Linked DNA regions of Homo sapiens: regions 1, 2, 3, 5, 6 and 7 are each linked to region 4. The links are contacts of gene promoters, found by promoter capture Hi-C in blood cells and fetal thymus (Javierre and others, 2016). All regions are on one chromosome and are shown on one strand. The core of a region is centred on a gene start or on the middle of the fragment in contact, and the rest is flanking DNA. Distances in the headings are between cores, read along the strand shown.

Region 1 (2,700 bases), core at 157-2,656, 3.9 Mb after region 4:
CTCTTGTTACTGCCTAATCATGCAGTGTGAGCCTAGGAAAAGGCTCCTCACCTTGACCTCTTATTGAGATGTTGCATGTGATAACATGCATGGCTGTATGGGAAGAGCTCCTTGCTTTCCCGTGGCCACCCTTTAACCCTTGTTCACTTCCAGTGTTGGGAATAGCAGGTACGAGTGGATATACTTTCCTACTCATACTGAGCTGAACACTGGAGGGCCCGTTCTGGAGATGATCCTTTTCCCTGTCATAGGTCACCATCTCATGAACAACCACAGACCACCACCCCCGAATGAAAAGTAAGAGTTATAAAAACATCGAATGCTTTCTCTCTAAGGGACCATAATGGATATCTAAGTAAGTTATAAAAGTAATAATTAAAAAAAAAATTTTTTTTTGAGATGGAGTTTCGCTCTTGTAGCCCAGGCTGGAGTGCAATGGCGCAATCTCGGCTCACTGCAACCTCATCCTCCCGGGTTGGAGCAATTCTCCTGCCTCAGCCTCCCGAGTAGCTGGGATTACAGGCGCCCGCCACCATACCCAACTAGTTTTTGTATTTTTTAGTAGAGACGGGGTTTCACCATGTTGGCCAGGCTGGTCCCGAACTCCTGACATCAGGTGAACCACCCACCTCGGCCTCCCGAAGTTCTGGGATCATAGGCCTGAGCCACCGCTCCCGGCCTAAAATAATTTTTAAAAACGTTCTGTGGTCGAAATGGATATCCACCTTCCTAGAAACACTGCTTTGCCAAGTTGGACGAAATGCGAACCCTAATTTCCCCACGTGCATTAGCTGTAGTCAATCATATTAGATCTAGGGCAGCCCTCGGTTGCTAGTCGTGGGAAGGGCATTCTGCAAGTGTCTAAAACCGCCCGCAAAGCAGTGGGTAAAGCAGCGGCCTAGAGGGGGCATGGCTGTCCCACGCCAAACAGCGTATTAGCCGCAAAACCAGGTACTGGCTGAACCTCAGTTTGCGTCTTCGCTCCGCCGCCTTCTGGAGTCCTTTCTGCCCCTAGAGGACGCAGGTGAGCTAAGCAGCAGTCATGCCCTTTACCATCATGACGCCCGCAGGCGGGACCACCCGGCACTGTAGACAGCTGCCCTTTACAATCATGACTCATAGAAACTACGGCACTCTGGCCGTGGCCGACGTTGCTCCTCCGAAGCATGGCGCCGGCGGGAGTTGTAACCCGGGCTGTCCGGAGCGGGGAGCTGCCCCTCACAAGCATGGCGTCAGCTGAAAATGAAGCCTGTGCTGTGCGGAGCGTCGCCTGCCCCTCACAAGCATGGCGTCTGCAGAAGGTGCTGTGCGGCCGCTGCGGGGCGGCCAGCTGCCCTTCACAAACATGGCGGCCGAGGGGTGCGGGGAGTGGCGGGGTAAGGATGGGAAGCCGAGCAGACGGCCCCAGAACAAGCGGTCATGTGACTGGGAAGATGGCCGTCTTTCCTTGGTAAGGAAGCAGCGGCGGGTGGGCTTTGGAGAGGGGCTGTCCTTACTTGTGATGGGGTCGGCCTGGGTCTGAGAGTGTGAATTCCTCTCTGTCGGGTTCTGGTGGTCGACCGGCCACCCCCAAGTTGTCTTGACCGTAGAATCCCTGGCCGCTACCGCGGTCCAGCGGAGCAATCTGAAGCCAGACTGGCGGGTTCTTGGTTCTCTCCCCGTCTGCTGCCTCTCTGCGCCTTCCACGGGCCCCTGTCCATTCATTCCCTAAAGAAAACTTGAGTTTCCAGGCTTCCGCGTCCCCAGAAGTTGGCGCGGGTTCTGGGGTCGCTGGATGAGGGTAATGGTGGACTCAGCTTTTAAAGTCTGGACGAGTCGGGAGATCTGGCTGTTGGTCAGTTTCCTCAGCTCCTCTGTTCACCTGGAGACTTGCTTTTCTCATCTGTAAAATGGCCGCCATTCATCCTATCCTAGGCACAGCCCTCAGACTTATTCCTTGGCCTCAAGGAGCTGACAGTATAATGGGGCAGACGCACAGTAGAGGGATGTCTAAAGAAGGCATTCGGATGAGGCACCAAGAAGGGAGTGATTATCCCCACCAGGGGGCTAGGGGAAGGCTTCAGAGAGGAGGAGTTAAATTGGGTCTTGGAGGATGAATAGGAGTCCACCATAGGGAGGGCGTGGCGTGTGCCTGGTTGGCAGGCCCGTAGGTCCCTTGTGGTTGGAGTAGCTAGGAATGAGTGACTGAAGCTTCAGGGTTCAGCAGGTGGTATGTGTGTGAGTGAAGAACTTGAGGAAGTTGTGTTGTTGATGATAGTGGGATTTGGGGACGGGGAATCTCTCCTGCATCTCAGAAAGCGAGATAATTTACTTTCTCTTCAAATGATGTGAAGTAGCTTAGATTAAATGAGCAAATGAAAGACCTTAGAAATAATCAGGTACAACCTTCTGCTTTTGAGCTTGATAAACACTTCATTTTGTCTTATTCCTTTCATTTGCCCAACACTTAAGAGACTGCTTCCTTGACACGCTACATCAGCATTGAATGCCTCTGAGCACTTCCACACCCTGAGGTTTTTTTTTTTTTTTCAGTTAATAGTCATGCTGGCTGGGTATGGTGGCTCACGCCTGTAATCCCAGCACTTTGGGAGGCCGAGGCTGGCGGATCACCTGAGGTCAGGGGTTCGAGACCAGCCTGGCCAACATGGCGAAACCTAATCTCTACTAAAAATACAAAAATTAGCTGGGCTAAATTAGTGG
Region 2 (2,700 bases), core at 156-2,655, 4.7 Mb before region 4:
CCCTTTAAATAGCAGATTGTTCTTTATTGTTTCATCTTCAGGCTGCTTCCTCTTTATGTCTTACCCGTTTTTAGAGATTGTAGATGGGACAATCCTATCTAGACGTTTCCTTCCTTGCTCTCACCAGACCCCCAGCCCTGAAAACTGAAGTTAGCCATAAAAGAAATCAGGAGAGGAGGGCCCTTTTCCTGAGTCACTTCCTCTTGGTGTCTGCTTTTCCTTCTCAAGCCTGAGCTCCCTTGACAGGTGAAGTTACCTGGGGCTGTGGGCCCTGGAGAAGCCATCTTAAAAGCCGTGCCCGGTGGCACTCCCAGGGCATCCAGCTAGGCTTCTGGTCCCCGCGCTGCTCAGGACTGGCCTCGGTGATTCTTTTGGTCTCCCCCACCAGCAAAGAGGCCTTGAGGACTGGAAGGTGTCTACCTGTCTCAGCTCCAGCACCTGGCATTCAGGCCTGTTTGGGTAGATGAAGTACAGCACCATAGCCTCTGCAGCCCTTATTTATTTATTTATTTATTTATTTAGACTCTCGCTCTGTCACCCAGGCTGGAGTGCAATGGTGTGATCTCGGCTCACTGCAACCTCCACCTCCCAGGTTCAAGCAATTCTCCCTGCCTCAGCTTCCAGAGTAGCTGGGATTACAGACTTCGCCACCACACCCAGCTAATGTTTGTATTTTTAGTAGAGACAGGGTTTCGCCATGTTGACCAGGCTGGTCTTGAGCTCCTGACCTCAGGTGATCCACCCACCTTGGCCTCCCAAAGTGCTGGGATTACAGGCATGAGCCACCGCTCCCAGCCAGCCCATTTAACTCAGTGAATTTAACAATCTGTTCTCAGCAAATAAGACCATTGCCCTTGGGCTGCAAACCACCCAGATCATTTGAGCCATAAGTTCTGATGGGCTCACTGCACTTGAGAAGGATTGTGAGCATTCCAAGGGGAATTGCATGTGATTTTTGTCCCAGCAACTGCTGTGGGACCCAGCCTTCCTAAGCTGTGGCTCCATCTCTCTAAACCTCAACATTAGCCTGGCTGCAGGCCCCGTGTTAGGCATCCAGCCTGAGCTGTATGTCCCCACTTGCTCTGAAGGCATCAACATGATGGGAAGCATATGAAACAGGTGGCTACTTGCTCTTCTCTCAGTCCTGCTGAATCTGAATTTCCGAGGGGGCTCCAGGAGCCCCCACTTGATTCAGTTCTCCGGGTGGTTCTCTTGCACACTGCAGTTTGAGAGTAGTTGACTTCAAGGGTTTGACGATTTTCTTGTCTCCGTCTGGGTTGGTGTGTCCTTGGTTTAACCCTTCAAAGCATTGTCTGCTATTTTTCTGGGGTTGTGAGTTACATCTAATCTGAATGGGAAATTGCATTACCCAAACCTGAAAAAGCATTGCTGCATTGTCTCCAAAATATTGCTAATGGTCATGGAACTTGGCTTGCATTTCAGTTGGTAACCTTTAATTTCCTTTTCTCTCATTTCTCTCAGGTATCTGTACCACGTTTTGACCAAAAACACCACAGTCACAGAACAGAACCGGAACCTGCTAGTGGAGACCATCCGTTCCATCACTGAGATCCTGATCTGGGGAGATCAAAATGACAGCTCTGTATTTGAGTAAGGGTTTCTAATGATTGCTGTTCTTTGATTATTCTTCTTTGAATGTTTTTCTAAATGTATACTATGAGTCATTCTGGATGATGTCAGGATTTGACGCTAATTTGATCTTGCCTAGATATCTATCTCTGTCTAGCTGTAAAAAAAAAAAAAAAATGCCCTTGAAGCACTATAGAAATGCAAGCCAAAAATGGGGAAGTTATGGAAATGAGTGTCTCTAGAAAACCTGAAAATGTCATGGGTAATTTTCCTTCAGGTTGTGTCTGATTATTTTCCCAAAGGAAGGAGAACATGTCTGGTGGTTAGATTTGACATGAACAGAAGGCCTGTGCCCTGGGGGAGTCCCTGAGGGCTCCCAGTTACCATGTTTACTGATGACCAGGCACAGGGCTGAGCTCCTGATGAGATGGTCCACCTAAGTTTCCCACCCACCCCATGGTAGAGGCCCTGTTGGTGTCCCCTTTTTTGCTCAAGGTCACATAGCTGGTAAGCGGTGGAAAAGTGACACACCCAGAATCAGTGAGGGGTCCCGCAACTCACCACTTCCTAGGTGAGCAGTCCTCAGCCAGGCTCTTCATCTCCCTAAGCCTCAGTTTCTTTACCTTTAAAAGAGAGAGAAAAAGTTCTCTTTGTCTAGTGCCTGGTACAGGAATAAATGATAGCAAATGATAAAGACAGACGTGCCTCACTGGACAGTTAAAAAGCAAGGGCCGCCAGGCGCGGTGGCTCACACCTGTAATCCCAGCACTTTGGGAGGCTGAGGCAGGAGGATCGCTTGAGCCCAGGAGTTTGAGACCAGCCTGGGCAACATACAGAGACCTCGTCTCTACGTATAATTAAAAAATTAGTCATGCATGGTTGTGTGTGCCTGTGTTCCCAGCTACTCAGAAGGTTGAGGTGGGAGGATTGCCTGAGCCCAGGAGGTCCAGGCTGCAATGAGCCATGATCTTGCCACTGCACTCCAGCCTGGGTGACAGAGTGAGACCATGTCTCAAAAAAAAAATAGCAAGGGCTGTTAACTGTGAACTACCTCCCTAATAGATCTGCCTTGATGTCTTAGTGCAGAAGGATTTGGGGCTGGGTTATGAC
Region 3 (2,726 bases), core at 48-2,547, 4.9 Mb before region 4:
ACGAAGGCGGCAAAGGCGACGGAATGGAGGAGGTGCCTCACGGTAAGCTCGCGGAGGGGGCGTGGGTCGCGGGGCGAAAGTGTCGGGAGCTGCTCTAACTGTGGTCTTGTCTCTGCGCAGACTGTCCAGGGGCCGACAGCGCCCAGGCGGGCAGAGGGGCTTCATGTCAGGGATGCCCCAACCAGCGGCTGTGCGCTTCTGGAGCGGGGGCCACTCCGGACACGGGTGAGAAAAGGGCAAGGCCTCAACAGGAACTTAGAGGCGCAGGCCCGGAAAAGGCGGGGCGTGGGAGGGAGGGGGCGGGATCTGCAGAATGACTGACAGCGGCAGGCTAGAAGGTATTGTATTCGGAGAGGGGTGGGGCCCAGAAGGGGCGGGGCGTGGAAAGTGGGCAGGGTGAGGGCGGAGCTTGGAATGACTGACAGGAACGAGGCCTTTAGAAGGCGAGCGCGAAGGACCTGGCGCGGATGGAGGGTGGAGACTGACCGGCGCGGAGTCGAAAGGGACATTAATTAAGAGGGTCGGGGCCAGAGGTTTGAGTGACAATAACAGACCGCAGAGAAAAACGGGATAAGCTTCGAAGTCGGGGAGTCTTCGGACTTACATCCTGGCTCTGCCAGCTACTTTCTTGACACAATTTTCTTCCTTTTGAGGAGTGATTCTCCCACTCATTCAGCAGAAATGTGTTGATCGCCTCGTAGGTTTGGTGCTGTCCTGGGGACACAGCTGGGGATCAGGCGTGGTCACTGCTCTAGTGGAGTTTAGCTTTACTGGGGAAACAAACACGTGAGCTAGCAACTAAACCACCGCAGCTTTAAGTGCTGTGAAGCACAGATTCCAGGATGAGAGGACCCAGGGAGCCTGCTCAGAAGGACCTTAAAAAGCAGGAGGCAGGAGGACAATATTTTTTTTTCTTTTTTTTCCCCCTTTTTTTTTAGACAGAGTCTTGCTGTGTAGCCCAGACCAGAGTGCAGTGGTGTGATCTCGGCTCACTGCAACTTTCACCTCTCAGGTTCAAGCGATTCTCGTGCCTCAGTCTCCCGAGTACCTGGGACTACAGGCGCCTGCCACCACGGCTGGCTAATTTTTATATTTTTAGTAGAACCAGAGTTTCACCATGTTGACCAGGTTGGTCTCGAACTCCTGACCTCAAGTGATGCATCTGCCTGGGCCTCCCAAAGTGCTGGGATTACAGGCATGAGCCACTGCACCTGGCCAAGGGGGAGAATCTTGAAGGAGTTCAGAGAGAGACTTGGATTTGATTCTTGGATCCATGCGGTGTGACCTTCAGCAATAGTCCTAACCTCTCTGAGCTTCTGGTTCCTCATCAAAAATGGAGACAGGCCGGGTGCAGTGGCTCACGCCTGTAATCCCAGCACTTTGGGAGGCCGAGGCGGGTGGATGGATCACTTGAGGTCAGGAGTTCGAGACCAGCCTGGCCAACATGGTGAAACCTGTCTCTACTAAAAATACAAAAATTAGCCAGCATGGTGGTGCATGCCCGCCCTCGAGGCTGAGGTGGGAGGATCACTTGAACCCGGGAGGTGGAGGTTGCAGTGAGCTGAGATCGTGCCACTGCACTCCAGCCTGGGTGACAGAGTGAGACCCTGTCTCAAAGAAAAAAAAAAATGAAGAGAAAAATAGTTATCTCTGTCAATGCAATGGAGAGACTGAACTGAGCCTCAGTGGAGGTTTATTGGGCCAGAGCTTGAGGGCGTGCCCTGGAAAATACAAGTGACAGAAACATCTGTGGCCTGTGCTCGATGGAGTGGTTCCAGAAGGCTGGTGTTTATATATTTCATTAAAAGGGGAAAAAGCATGCAGGAAAAAGTGCAGTAGGCCTCGTGGCAGGTAGTTACATTCTTGTGAGGTTTTAATTCGTGCCCAGTATATCTACACTATTCAGAAAATAAAGTAAACATTCAAAAGAGGGAATAAAGGAAGAATTAATTAGGCAGACGTCTCAGGGTAGGAGAGGAAGGACTATCTCATCCCATCTTTGTTTGGCATGTGGGAGGATAAGCTTGTAATGGACATGGTCAGTGTGGCGTTTAACAGACATCAGTAATAGGGAAGGAGTTAGACTGAGGTTACAGTCCTAAAGTTACAGTTGGCATGTCCTTGTTTATGGGAGGATACTCATCTTCAAAGATTTAGGGGCCAGCAAAGGAGTTCCTTAGGAGCAACTTGTGAGGGCAGTCATCCCACAATGGATTGCATGGGGCCTTTGGCCTTTTGCAGGTGTCTGGTTAATGTAGAATGCTTTGACACAAGGTTGGGAAGTAACAGCTGTCTGTTGATGGGGAGGAGGACAGCAGTGTTGGGAGGTTTCCAGGCTTAACTTTCACTTGAGTTTGGCCAGTCATGAGACTTTTTAATTTCCTTTATACCTCGTGTATTGTTTTAAGGATTTGAAATAAGATAGTTTCATTGGCAGATACTTAGTATGTGCCTGCTGTCTATCAGAGTTTCTCAACCTCAGCACTGCTGACATTTGGGGCAGGATCACTCTTTGTTGTGGGGGGCTGTCCTGTGCATTGTAGGACATTTAGCACAATCTGGGCTGTACCCATTAAATGCCAGCAGTACCTCTCCTGTGACAATGAAAAGTGTCTCCAGGCTGAGCATGGTGGCTCACACCTGTAATTCCAACACTTTGGGAGGCCAAGGTGGGTGGATCACTTGAGGTTGGAAGTTCGAGACTAGCCTGGCCAACATAGAGAAAC
Region 4 (2,700 bases), core at 57-2,556:
TAATCCCAGGACTTTGGGAGGCCGAGGTGGGTGGATCACCTGAGGACAGGGATTCGAGAGCAGCCTGGCCAACATGGTGAAACCCCGTCTCTACTAAAAATATAAAAATTAGCCGGGTGTGGTGATGCGGGCCTGTGATCCCAGCTACTCGGGAGGCTGAAGCAGGAGAATTGCTTGAACTCAGAAGGCAGAGGTTGCAGTGAGTGGAGATCACGCCACTGCATTCCAGCCTGGGAGACAGAGGGAGATTTCATCTCAAAATAAATAAATAAACAAAATCAAGATCATTTAACAAATACATATATTGTACTTACTAAGTTCAAATTTCTGTTCTAAACGTTTTTACAAATGCTGTTAAGTCATTTAGTCCTCTGCATAATGTCGTTTGTTTGTTTGTCTGTTCTTTAAGACGGAGTCTTGCCCTGTCGCCTAGGCTAGAGTGCAGTGGTGTGATCTCGGCTCACTGCAACCGCCACCTCCCGGTTTCCCGTGATTCTCCTGCCTCAGCCTCCTGAGTAGCTGGGATTACAGGTGCGTGCCACCACATCCGGCTAATTTTTTGTATCTTTAGTAGAGACGGGGTTTCACCATGTGCCAGGCTGGTCTTGAACTCCTGACCTCGTGATCCACCCGCCTTGGCCTCCCAAAGTGCTGGGATTACAGGCGTGACCACCGCGCCAGACCCATAATGGCGTTTTATAGATGGGGAAACGGAGTCATAGAGGCTAAACAACTTTCCCAAGACCACACAGTTAGTAAGGGGCAGGACTAGGACTCAAAGCCAAGTTTATGACCAAATTCTGGTGCACTACGTTCTCCTGCTTCTGGAGAAGATAATGATGCTGAAGATTCTACTTTTGGTGTAAAGGAGTAGGAAGGGCACGGGGCACTGCTAGCTTCAGTGGGCCTGAATCTTTGTCTTTCCTTCTGATTTGGAGAAAGTGCAAGAATGGGAAAATGCAATCGAAGTGAAGGAGAGGCCGGCGTATTTTCCTGAAATGCGCGGCCCGCAAGCCCAAACCCGTTTCCCGGGTGTCCAGGCAGCGTTCTGCAGCATCTCCAATGCCCGCCAGCCCGCCGCAGCCCAGCGCCCGGCAGCCGGCGCCTCTCAAACCCCCTCCGGCCAGGAGCCTTCGCCGCTTGGCCGCGCCGCGCCCGGCCTGGGAAAAAAGTTTCCAAACGACGCTGCTCTGCGCTGATTGGCCGAGGCGGACGCGGTACCGTAGAGCAGCAGCCAATGGGAGGCGCCGACCGCAGGCTCCGGGGCGGGGGCGGGGTCCGGAGGGCCGGGGCCGCACCGCCCTTCGCAGCCGCCTCTGCCGCCGCCGCCGCGTTGGCCTCGCCGCCCCTGCTCGGGTAAGTGAGGCGCTGCGCGGGGCTGGGGTCGGGGTGGCTGTCCGGGGACCTCCACCGCGGCTGAAAAGCTCCTCTGCCCCGCCCCAGGATCCCGGGACCCCGGGCCACCGCCTGGCAGGGACCCCTACGCCCCTCGCTTGCGCGTCGCTTCCCGGCCGCCTGGACTCCCCCGGTCCCTGGGCTCCAAAATCCCGCCTCCCTGGAGCCTCCCGTCCTAAAAAGTTAGGCACTGAGTGCCTTGCCACCGGTGCGTTCCTCGCGCTGGCCCCTCGCCCTTGGCAACTTTGTTTCTCTTTCTGCGTTGGTCTCTCTCCCACCCCGTTGCCCTCTTCTCCTTCCGGGACTTCCTGGGTGGTTAAGCCTTGCCGGTCCCCAAACCCCGCTGCCAGGCTCCATCCTCTTTCTCCTCTTCCTTCCTCCCCATACTCCTCTCCTAGATGACCCTCGTTTCTTTTCTCTCTCTCTCCTATTCCTCCATCCTGCCACCCGCTTCTCTGCGACCCCAGACCCCTCGATTGCAGCGTTGCCCCTGCCCTCACACCCACTGTCCCGCCCCTGCAGGCCTCTTTCCAAAAACCCACCCTGCTCCCTCCCTCCGGGAACACGTTTGGGGCAGTCTGCTCTCCGCTTTGCTCCCGTCTCTGCCGCAGGACGGTTCAGGTTTCTTCTGACAGCACTTTGGGGAGGGATTGGGTAAAGGACGAAAATGCTTATTCCGCAGCTTGAGTGATGGCTGGGCTCACTGAGGACCTGAGTCTCTGAGGTCCTGGGAAACCCCGCTGTCACCTTGACACCGCTTTTGGGGAGGCGACTTTATCTTCTCCGAGCCATCTCAGGCTTTCTGCCTCCTGAGGGCCTGAGCTTCCTTGATTGCTTTGTCCGTGGTTACTACCAGGTTGTGCCTCTTAATTTCTACTTTGAGCCTCAGGCCCCTTTTAACTTTCTAAAGAAAAGGCCTTTGCAGCACGACCTAGGCAGGTTCATCATTTTTAGTTTTGTTATAGTGTATTCTAGCATAGGATGGCATTTTAGGACATGGGTCGGGTGTTTTGAAGATTAATTAGATCCCAGCTACTCCTAAAGCCTCTTGTTACCCGACCACCCCAGCCTCCATCACCTCGTTGGTATACAACCCGTTTTTTTTTTTTTTTTTTTGTTTTTGTTTTTGAGACAGAGTCTCACTCTCGCCCAGGTTGGAGTGCAGTGGTGCGATTTTGGCTCACTGCAACCTCCGCTTCCCGGGTTCAAGCGATTCTCCTGCCTCAGCCTCCGGAGTAGCTGGGACTACAGGTGCGTGCCACCACGCCTGGCTAATTTTTTGTATTTTTAGTAGAGATGGGGTTT
Region 5 (2,700 bases), core at 11-2,510, 4.7 Mb before region 4:
TTTTGTAGAGACGGGGTCTCACTATGTTGCCCAGGCTGGTTTCAAACTCAAGTGATCCTTCCACCTCAGCCTCTATAAAATTTGAATAAAGTTGTAGATGAGATTGGTCATAGGATTGTATAGTGTATCAATATTAGATTTGCTGATTTTGACAACCCTACTGTGGTTATGCAAATTTGTCCTTGTTCTAAGGAAATAAATACTGAATTATTTAGGAGTAAAGGTGCATAATGAACCCATTTTCAAATGCTTATGAAAATTACACATATACACATGTGTGCATATACACAGGCATGCATATACAAACAGAGGGAAGAGCATGCACGTGTACATGAGCAAAGTGCTAACTGGTGCAACTGGTGAGTTTGGGCGGGCATTGTTTGTGCTCTTGCAACTTTTCTGTAAGTGTGAAATTACTTCATAACAGAGGTTTTTGTTTGTTTGTTTGTTTTTAATTCAGGAAAAAGTTGGAAGAGTGCGTATGAAATAGGCCTGGCAGAAACTATGAGCTGGTGTTCCAAGGTCGGGGATGGGGAGCCCTCACTGGAGGCACCCCTCAAACCCTCAGTGCTGTGGCCAGGGAACCGGGCTGGCAGTCTTAGTTGGCTTTGTTCCCTCGGCCTCCACTTCCCCATTCTGTGCCTCCATTTATTTGTGAGACAGGGATAAAGAGGTCTGCCACTTTTATTGTGATCTTAGGTTTCCCAAAAGCCGAGTATGCTTTCAGAAGTTCTGGGAGGAAAGCTAGCAGATAAACCAGAAATATGAATATCCAAATTGAGAGAAGCCCTCACTTTCTTAGTTCGGCAAAACAGACACATGAGCTGTAAGTGGGGCAGACCCTGCCTGTTTCTTGGCTGAAATCTCCAGTTTGTATAATTCAGGGCTAAGAGAGCAGGACTCTTGACATCTCACTGTCTTGAGACACATACTGGGGTTTTCTCCTGTCTGAAGACGCAGCTGGCACCAATGTACCCTATGGCCAAGGACCTTCTGGGTGAGCCTCATGTCAGGAGCAGAGCTGGAGAGGTGGCCAGGCCTGGGGGTATACTTGCCTCCCTGTGTCACCATTGTCTGTCTCTTGCTTAGATGACAGCCACAGCTTCCTGGCCTGGTTTCCTGCATCCGCCCTGACCCCTGGCTGTGGGATCTCCCATAACTCAAATCTGACTGTGTCCCTGTGGAAGGTTTGGGTTTCTGACCTGGGCAGCTCTATGTCCGGCACAGGGGTTCTGCTGATAGCACAGGCCACAGATTGGCAAGGAGGGACCAGGTTAGGAAGGAGCAGCTGTGGTTCCTAGTTGGGAGATAACTGAAGCCTAGGAAATCCTGGAATAAGATAGACCAATGCATCGATAACCCTCAGCTCCAAATCTGAGCTGCACCAGGACAAGCTGACTCTGGTGGCAACGTTCTCCAGTCTCTGCATTTTCAGCTCGCTGTGTGCCAAGAGAGGGCTGGCAGGTACCAGCAGCTTTCACTTTCATTAGGAACCGGGACGAATAATCCAACTGAGCTGCCTCTGCACCAGAACTGCTGGGACGTGAAGACTCTCCCTGGCTCCCAGGCCAGCCACTGCAGCCCTTTCTCCTGGGAAGGAGGGAGCTCCCGATTCCCCATTCCCTGCTCCTGGGCAACAATTAACACTCTAGGAAAACCACAGAGCCGGCTATCCAGGGTTCTGGTGCCCTGGGGACCACAGGGCAGCAAGAAAGTTCTCCTAAGGGTCCTGGGGCTGGGAAGGCAGAGTGGGAAGTCTCCCCCAGCTAGGCTAGACCTGGACCTCCCTGGCACTCAGGCAGCCTGTCCTCTTCTGCTCACAGGATATAAATATTCATGCATGAGTATAGGTGCAGGTTTGTACATTTGCAAGGGCATGGGTATAACACGCTTTCCATTGTATCCGACTATGAATATGAGTGGTTAATATTAATACATCTCTTACTATATACAAGGAGATCTAAGTGCTTTATGTATATCTCACCTAATCCTCACAACAAGGGAGATTTTCATTATTTCCATCTTCTAGAAGAGGAAACCAAAGTACAGGGAGGTTAAGCAGCATGCCCAAGGTCACAGCTACCCTGGGATGTGAACCCAGGGCCCTGGCTCTTAACCATGACCCTAATACTGCCTCCTCAAGTAGGTGCTCAGCAAATGTTTGAGGAACTGAATTATGTGGGTCCACACATAAGAGAAAAAAAAAAAAAAGAGGGAGCAAAAGTAGGTGCACCTGTTCATCTTGAGATTCATCCTGGGCCCCACTGTGTGACATGCTCCACGCCCTTAGTCACTGTTTCCTGGATTGGCGTGTGGGGAACACATGTGACCACATGAGAATGGCTGAGAAAGAGCAGGACTGACTACCGGCGTTCCCCTGCTTATGGAAAGGGGCCTGGAGATGAGGCTCGGTCAGATCATCTTGAGGTCTTTCCTGGCGGCTTCCCTGCTGCTAGCTACCCCTCTCATACCCTGGGGTTCTGAGCTTCCTCGGCACTTGGGGGCAAGGCCTCCTTGGCTTGGATTTGAGGGTGGGGAGGAGGGAAGGCTGTGCATGGCTTCCACCACTTCTCCAGGCCTCCCCACTTCCCAGGGTCAGGCCCTGACACCCCGAGAGCTTTGCAAGGGTGTCCCTGAGAGATATTTCCTGGTGTTTCTGCTTAAACAGCGTTTGCTGCAAAATATGTCGAAGCATTTGGG
Region 6 (2,700 bases), core at 151-2,650, 3.1 Mb after region 4:
TAGAGAGTCTCACATGAAAACATAAAACACAGCGGCAGCAGACTTACCATGCTTCATCATCACAGTGAGAAACCGGACGATGACTTTGGAGCACGGCCTAATAAGCACCTGGCGTTTGCCTCTCTTTTCGGCATTGTTGATACTCTTGAGAGCATCTGCCAGGACATTCATGCGCACCATTGTGGCTGTTCAAGGAAGACAAAACAGGAGGTTTTACTGGCATTGCCAACATCAACAGACACCAACCATTACACTGCGGAAGTATCCTTTCCTTTCTGGCCCCACCTTGGCGAAGTTTTCTCAAGTCTAAGCAGGCTGCTTCTCCATTTCCCACCACCCAGGAAAATTCCTATTTACTACGGTTGTTGAAAACAGGTTATCGGGACGTCAGCCTGCACATTTTGAAACTCATTCATTCACTAACCACTCTTCTTCGAATCGTGCCACACACCAACGTCTGGAGATAATAAAATGTGGGACAAAATCCACTTGACACAAGACAACGTGAGAACTGGCAGAAACTGCCAGCTACCGGAAGGAAAACATCGGGTATAGTCGATCAGTGATTCAGAACAGAAGCAGAGTATCATCGGCAACATTTTCCAAATTGCTGAAAATCAGCAGATTCCATACTATTAACATTGTACTTTAAATCAGTTCACTCTCACCTACAATGAACACATCTAACTATTAAACATCCATCTTCGTGCCATTTAAAATTGCGTCCAACAGCAAGAGCCACAGTGGCAAACAGAAACATTTTACATGCTTGTCAGACTGGACTCTCTTCTAATGGGCAAGAACCGCACACTACACTGAAGTTTTGAAAGACCAAAGTGCCAATAGTAAAGAGTAGAACTTAAATTCCTTAAGTTCAAAAGTGTCTAAAGAAAAACTCTGCGGCCCAGAAGATCCAAGTTGGCACCCAGCAAACTGCCAACCCCGGCACGATGCAGCTTTTACCTGCTGGGTGGCCTCAGCCTCCCAAGCTCCCAGCGCGGCCGCAGCAGTGAGAAGCTGCACGGCCCACCAGCCCCGATGTTGCCCGCCGCCCGGGGCCAAGGCGCTGCCTCAGCACTAAAGGGAGATCCAGACGCTGCGGCCCGAACCGGAGCTACCGCCTAGCTGGGCAGTCGAAGGCTCCGGCTCCCGCCCGCGCTGCGGCCTGCACCCCACGGACCGGGATCCCCTGAGTGCACAGTCTGGGGCGCCCAGCCATGGCTCTCCTCTATGCCTGTCCAGGAACCGGCAAGGCCAGGATCCTCGGCCAAGGTGGGGACCAGCCTCCTCGCAGGACACCGAGACCGAACCTTAGATTGCAGGATGGCGCCGATGGCAGACGGATGAAATTGGAGCTCTCAGAGAGTGCTACTCACCGGCGCGGAAAGATGGCGGAAAGAGGACGGGAGGGGAGAGCGCACGGAGTTATGGGAAGCGGGAGAGCTATCGCGAGACTTTCAAAGGCCCGGCAAAAACAAGGACCGCCTAGGAGAAGGACGAGGGTGAGGGAAAGGCGGAGCCTCCTCAGGGGTTGGCAGTTGAGAGTCGATGGAATCGACCTCCCCCGGTGGGGCCTGGGAGAGGCAAGGTGAGCCGTTCGTTGGAGGTTCGTCTACATTTTTTTTTTTTTTTTGAGACAGTTTCGCTCTTGTAGCCCAGACTGGAGTGCAGTGGCGTGATCTCGGCTCACTGCAACCTGCGCCTCCCGGGTTCAAGTGATTCTCCTGCCTCAGCCTCCTGAGTAGCTGGAACTACAGAGATGCGCCACCACGCCCGGCTAATTTTTGTATTTTTAGTAGAGACGAGGTTTCCCCAAGTTGGCGAAGATGTTCTTGATCTCCTGACCTTGCGATCCGCCCGCCTCGGCCTCCGAAAGTGCTGGGATTACAGGCGGGAGCCACCGCGCGGGCCTTAATTTTTATTTTAGTTTACTTTTGATAAGGAGTCTCGCTCTGTCGCCCAGGCTGGAGTCCAGTGGCGCGATCTTGGCGCACTGCAGCCTCCGCCTCCCGGGTTCAAGCGGTTCTCCTGCCCCAGCCTCCAGAGTACCTGGGATTACAGGCGCCCGCCATCACACCCGGCTAATTTTTGTATTTTTAGTAGAGACGGGGTTTCACCATGTTGGCCAGGCTCGTCTCAAACCCCTGACATCAAGTGATCTGCCCACCTCGGCCTCCCAAAGTGTTGGGATTACAGGCGTGAGCCACCACACCCGGCTAAAAATTTTTTTTTAATTAAAAAGTTAAGTTCAGACAAAAGTCACCCAACAGTTGTTTACTGAGCACCCATGTACCAGACGCTAGCAAGGCCCTGGGGTACGAGGTGCCCACACAGGCACCATTTAGCCAGTTCTGTCCCTGCCGGTTCTTCCAGCTTCGTCCTCTCTCACACGTCAATGCCCCTGCTCATTCGTTGCATTTCCTCTTCCCTCTAGCATGGTACCTGGATATTTGCTAAATAAAACTTAAACCTTTTATTTTTGTTCTTTTTTAAAATTTTTCCTAGACAGGGTCCTGCTCTGTTGCCCAGGCTAGAGTGCAGGGGTACACTCAGCTCAATGCAACCTCAAACTCATGGACTCCAGTGAACCTCCTGCCCAGGTCTCCCAAAGTGGTGGGATTACAGGTAGGGTACCTTATAGACATCTAAGGACCACACAGGGTACTTCATTAATCAGATTCATAAATCCAATCATAAATA
Region 7 (2,700 bases), core at 137-2,636, 3.2 Mb after region 4:
AAATCAACTAAAAATTAGGCAATTCTAGTAAATTAAAGACAGCAAAAAACTTAAGATTGAACTTCAATTTCCAAGGGTACTTTGAAGAGGTTGTTTGTAGGTTATTCTGTACCCCCTGATTCTTAAAGAAAGTGGAGGAGAGGGGGAGGCGACAGAGGAATGGAGGGAAAGGGGGAGGCAAGAGAGAGAAACAGGAGAGGATCCCTGGTTTTCCACAGGTATTTTATCAAAAATGTATGACTTCATAACTACAGCACTCTAACTTTTCTCAGTCTAACTGCTGAGGTCTCTTACGAAAGTTCAAATGGCAAGTCACCTTGTAGAATGACTTAACAGAGGAAGCCAAACTATACAGACCAGGGCCTTGTCCAGAGTGCAGTAAGGAGCAGGCTTTTGAAGTCATCTATTACATCTGCCTTACAACCAAACCCACTGTGTATGCCACATTATTCTTGGAGGGACCACTTTAAAACAAAAGTGATGGATAATTTACCAGAGGCACATGCTTTTGAAGTAAAGCTGTTTTTTGTTTTTGCTTGAGTAAGGTGCCAGGTACCTCTGAAGCCTGAAAACACAGGCAATAAAATTCACCTATTTATCTTCTTTACCAAAGAGAAAGCAATTTCTGAATACTATCTATAGTGCTAAACTAATGTGAACTGACTATCATTGCGATAAAAGTTTTTCCTTATGATGACAATAAAGAATGTTGCTGAAAGACTTTAATCTTGAGAGAGCAGAGGTAATGTGATGAATGTAATTTGCTCCCAGAGCCTCTAGAAAATAAAGCAGTGTGCAAAATACAATATGGCATTATTATTCCAGCTAGGTTTTTTGCGAAAATAAGGTTCCAAATGAATGAAGAAAACAAAATTTGATGCGCTAGGTTCCTTAACTTGCTATTGGACACATGGGTATTTCAAAAAAATCCACCGTGCCTACAATACTTGTTAAAGTACCAAAAAAGCACTGATACTGAAACACATTCTTTCATGGGTACTTAACGATTACAGATTAACGTGGCAATCAGAATACAAAAAAGGCCCAGAGCTATGTGGAATTTTTTCCTTAATACCTTTCAAGTTTGTCTGTGAAGACGGCAACTAGAAAGTGACCACTGTCCTAATCTCTAAAATGCAGGGAAAATGTACTCAAACAATTTTTTTTTTTATCTAGTCATTTATTTTTGACACAGAGTCTAGCTCTGTTGCCCAGGCTGGAGTGCAGTGGCACAATCTCGGCTCACTGCAAGCTCCGCCTCCTGGGTTCACGCCATTCTCCTGCCTCAGCCTCCCGAGTAGCTGGGACTACAGGCGCCCGCCACCACGCCCGGCTAATTTTTTTTGTATTTTTAGTAAAGACGGGGTTTCACCGTGTTAGCCAGGATGGTCTCGCTCTCCTAACCTCATGATCCGCCCGCCTCGGCCTCCCAAAGTGCTGGGATTACAGGCGTGAGCCACTGTGCCCAGCCAACAATTAAGATTTTAATTGTGTTCTATTTTGTATTGATACTTGATTTTAAGAACCCTATTCTAGTCTGGGTTTTTATTTTGGATCAGCAATTTAGCTTACACAGTCAGTACTGAAATGCAATGCTAAATTTAAGGAAACCTTGATCATGAATTCACTATAATGTATTACTGAATAGCAAGCTATTAAAATTGTGCAAAAAGTAAAGCACTTCACAGACTAATAACTGAACTTAATAAAAGATGTTGGTGGATCTCATTTTCACTGTTTCATGTACATGTCCTAAAATGCCAAGTAAATTAAACAACTTTTAATTTACTAAGTGTAAATTAAAAGTATCAAATGAAAAACATGAATTAAAAAAATTTCAGTCTACCTCCACCAGAACATCACTTTATTGTTAATCTATCATCAACAATGTAAAACTCTAATAGATACTCTATCTTGGTTTTTAAAAAGGTAAAAGATTACACTGGATTAGCTACTTTCTATGAAAGAAACTACAGCTATCACAGAAGAGGGAAAATTTGAATGACCTCCAAAAAAAATGCACACTATAAGCAAAAGGGAGTGTACATTAAATCAAATGTCTGTTAGATTCATTACTTTTGAATGCACAGTGACAATTCTGGAAACTGTACATGATAGAATCACAGAAATGACTTAAATAACCGGAATTACATTTTGTGTGTGATCATCAGACCTTTAAACAATCCTTGAATTTTCCATGTTATCAGAAGTTGTTAACAGCATCGAGACGGAAGTATATGAAATATAAGGACTGAAATAAAAGTGAATTTGAAAGATGGCTAATCTACTAGATTAGGTAAAGGGGGAACGGGTAAGTGGTGGGGAGGAGTAGGGAACGATGGGGTGGTTTTTTTCCCTTCATTTCAGAAGTAAGTTCTTCTACTGTAGTGTATCTGTTACATAGCTCTCCATTTTCAGTCCATTTCTGAAATTCATATCGCATAGCCTTTAGCCTTTTTCTACTTACTGGTCAACCCAACCAGTACTGTTGCCAAGCAACAAGTGTTACACGAGAATCTGAATGCATCAAATCTTCCTTGGCTGTGATTTCTTCGCGACCCCAGTTTTCTCTGTTTCTGAGTGGGGTTTGTTTTTTTCCTGGATTGTACACACAGGGTCAGGTGGAATGGAGTTCCAAATCACTCTGTGCTCCGCGGCATCCCGATTTCTTTCCGCAGCTAACCTCCCGACACGTCTGCT

Evidence for each region. The method cuts DNA at HindIII sites, captures the fragments that hold promoters and counts their contacts. A CHiCAGO score of 5 or more calls a contact.
Region 1: the fragment with the promoter of VPS35L here is called in contact with the fragment with the promoter of NDE1 in region 4 in 1 of 17 cell types (fetal thymus); the score reaches 5.1 in fetal thymus.
Region 2: a contact is called between a fragment that was not itself captured here and the fragment with the promoter of NDE1 in region 4, in 1 of 17 cell types (neutrophils). The highest score is 5.2, in neutrophils.
Region 3: a contact is called between a fragment that was not itself captured here and the fragment with the promoter of NDE1 in region 4, in 1 of 17 cell types (fetal thymus). The highest score is 6.6, in fetal thymus.
Region 5: a fragment that was not itself captured here is called in contact with the fragment with the promoter of NDE1 in region 4 in 1 of 17 cell types (fetal thymus); the score reaches 7.5 in fetal thymus.
Region 6: a contact is called between the fragment with the promoter of RPS15A here and the fragment with the promoter of NDE1 in region 4, in 2 of 17 cell types (fetal thymus and neutrophils). The highest score is 14.2, in fetal thymus.
Region 7: a fragment that was not itself captured here is called in contact with the fragment with the promoter of NDE1 in region 4 in 1 of 17 cell types (fetal thymus); the score reaches 10.6 in fetal thymus.

The regions. Positions count from the first base shown.
Region 1 is chr16:19,554,297-19,556,996 of GRCh38, forward strand. VPS35L (VPS35 endosomal protein sorting factor like) reads left to right here and starts at 1,407. Exons shown (of 31, transcript NM_020314.7): 1 at 1,407-1,450. The coding sequence starts at 1,434. RefSeq lists enhancers at 1,002-1,481, 1,041-2,003, 1,862-2,091. The HindIII fragment of the contact is 7,423 bases long and covers 1-2,188 here.
Region 2 is chr16:10,956,300-10,958,999 of GRCh38, forward strand. It overlaps CLEC16A (C-type lectin domain containing 16A), which reads left to right. Exons shown (of 24, transcript NM_015226.3): 2 at 1,483-1,611. Among named protein-coding and RNA genes, the nearest start is that of CLEC16A, 13 kb to the left of the region's middle. The HindIII fragment of the contact is 8,463 bases long and covers 1-2,700 here.
Region 3 is chr16:10,743,841-10,746,566 of GRCh38, forward strand. NUBP1 (NUBP iron-sulfur cluster assembly factor 1, cytosolic) reads left to right here and starts at 2. Exons shown (of 11, transcript NM_002484.4): 1 at 2-42; 2 at 121-225. The coding sequence starts at 24. The HindIII fragment of the contact is 1,448 bases long and covers 574-2,021 here.
Region 4 is chr16:15,648,939-15,651,638 of GRCh38, forward strand. NDE1 (nudE neurodevelopment protein 1) reads left to right here and starts at 1,307. Exons shown (of 9, transcript NM_017668.3): 1 at 1,307-1,356. RefSeq lists enhancers at 1,008-1,509, 1,510-2,009. The HindIII fragment of the contact is 10,572 bases long and covers 1-2,700 here.
Region 5 is chr16:10,936,173-10,938,872 of GRCh38, forward strand. It overlaps CIITA (class II major histocompatibility complex transactivator), which reads left to right. Exons shown (of 20, transcript NM_000246.4): 20 at 1-222. The region is part of intron 1 of DEXI (Dexi homolog); the gene reads right to left. Among named protein-coding and RNA genes, the nearest start is that of DEXI, 4.9 kb to the right of the region's middle. The HindIII fragment of the contact is 5,264 bases long and covers 1-2,700 here.
Region 6 is chr16:18,788,934-18,791,633 of GRCh38, forward strand. It overlaps RPS15A (ribosomal protein S15a), which reads right to left and starts at 1,401. Exons shown (of 5, transcript NM_001019.5): 1 at 1,311-1,401; 2 at 48-185. The coding sequence starts at 180. RefSeq lists enhancers at 354-1,071, 1,009-1,638. The HindIII fragment of the contact is 4,087 bases long and covers 1-2,700 here.
Region 7 is chr16:18,806,590-18,809,289 of GRCh38, forward strand. SMG1 (SMG1 nonsense mediated mRNA decay associated PI3K related kinase) reads right to left here. Exons shown (of 63, transcript NM_015092.5): 63 at 1-2,700. Among named protein-coding and RNA genes, the nearest start is that of ARL6IP1, 6.4 kb to the left of the region's middle. The HindIII fragment of the contact is 3,418 bases long and covers 1-2,700 here.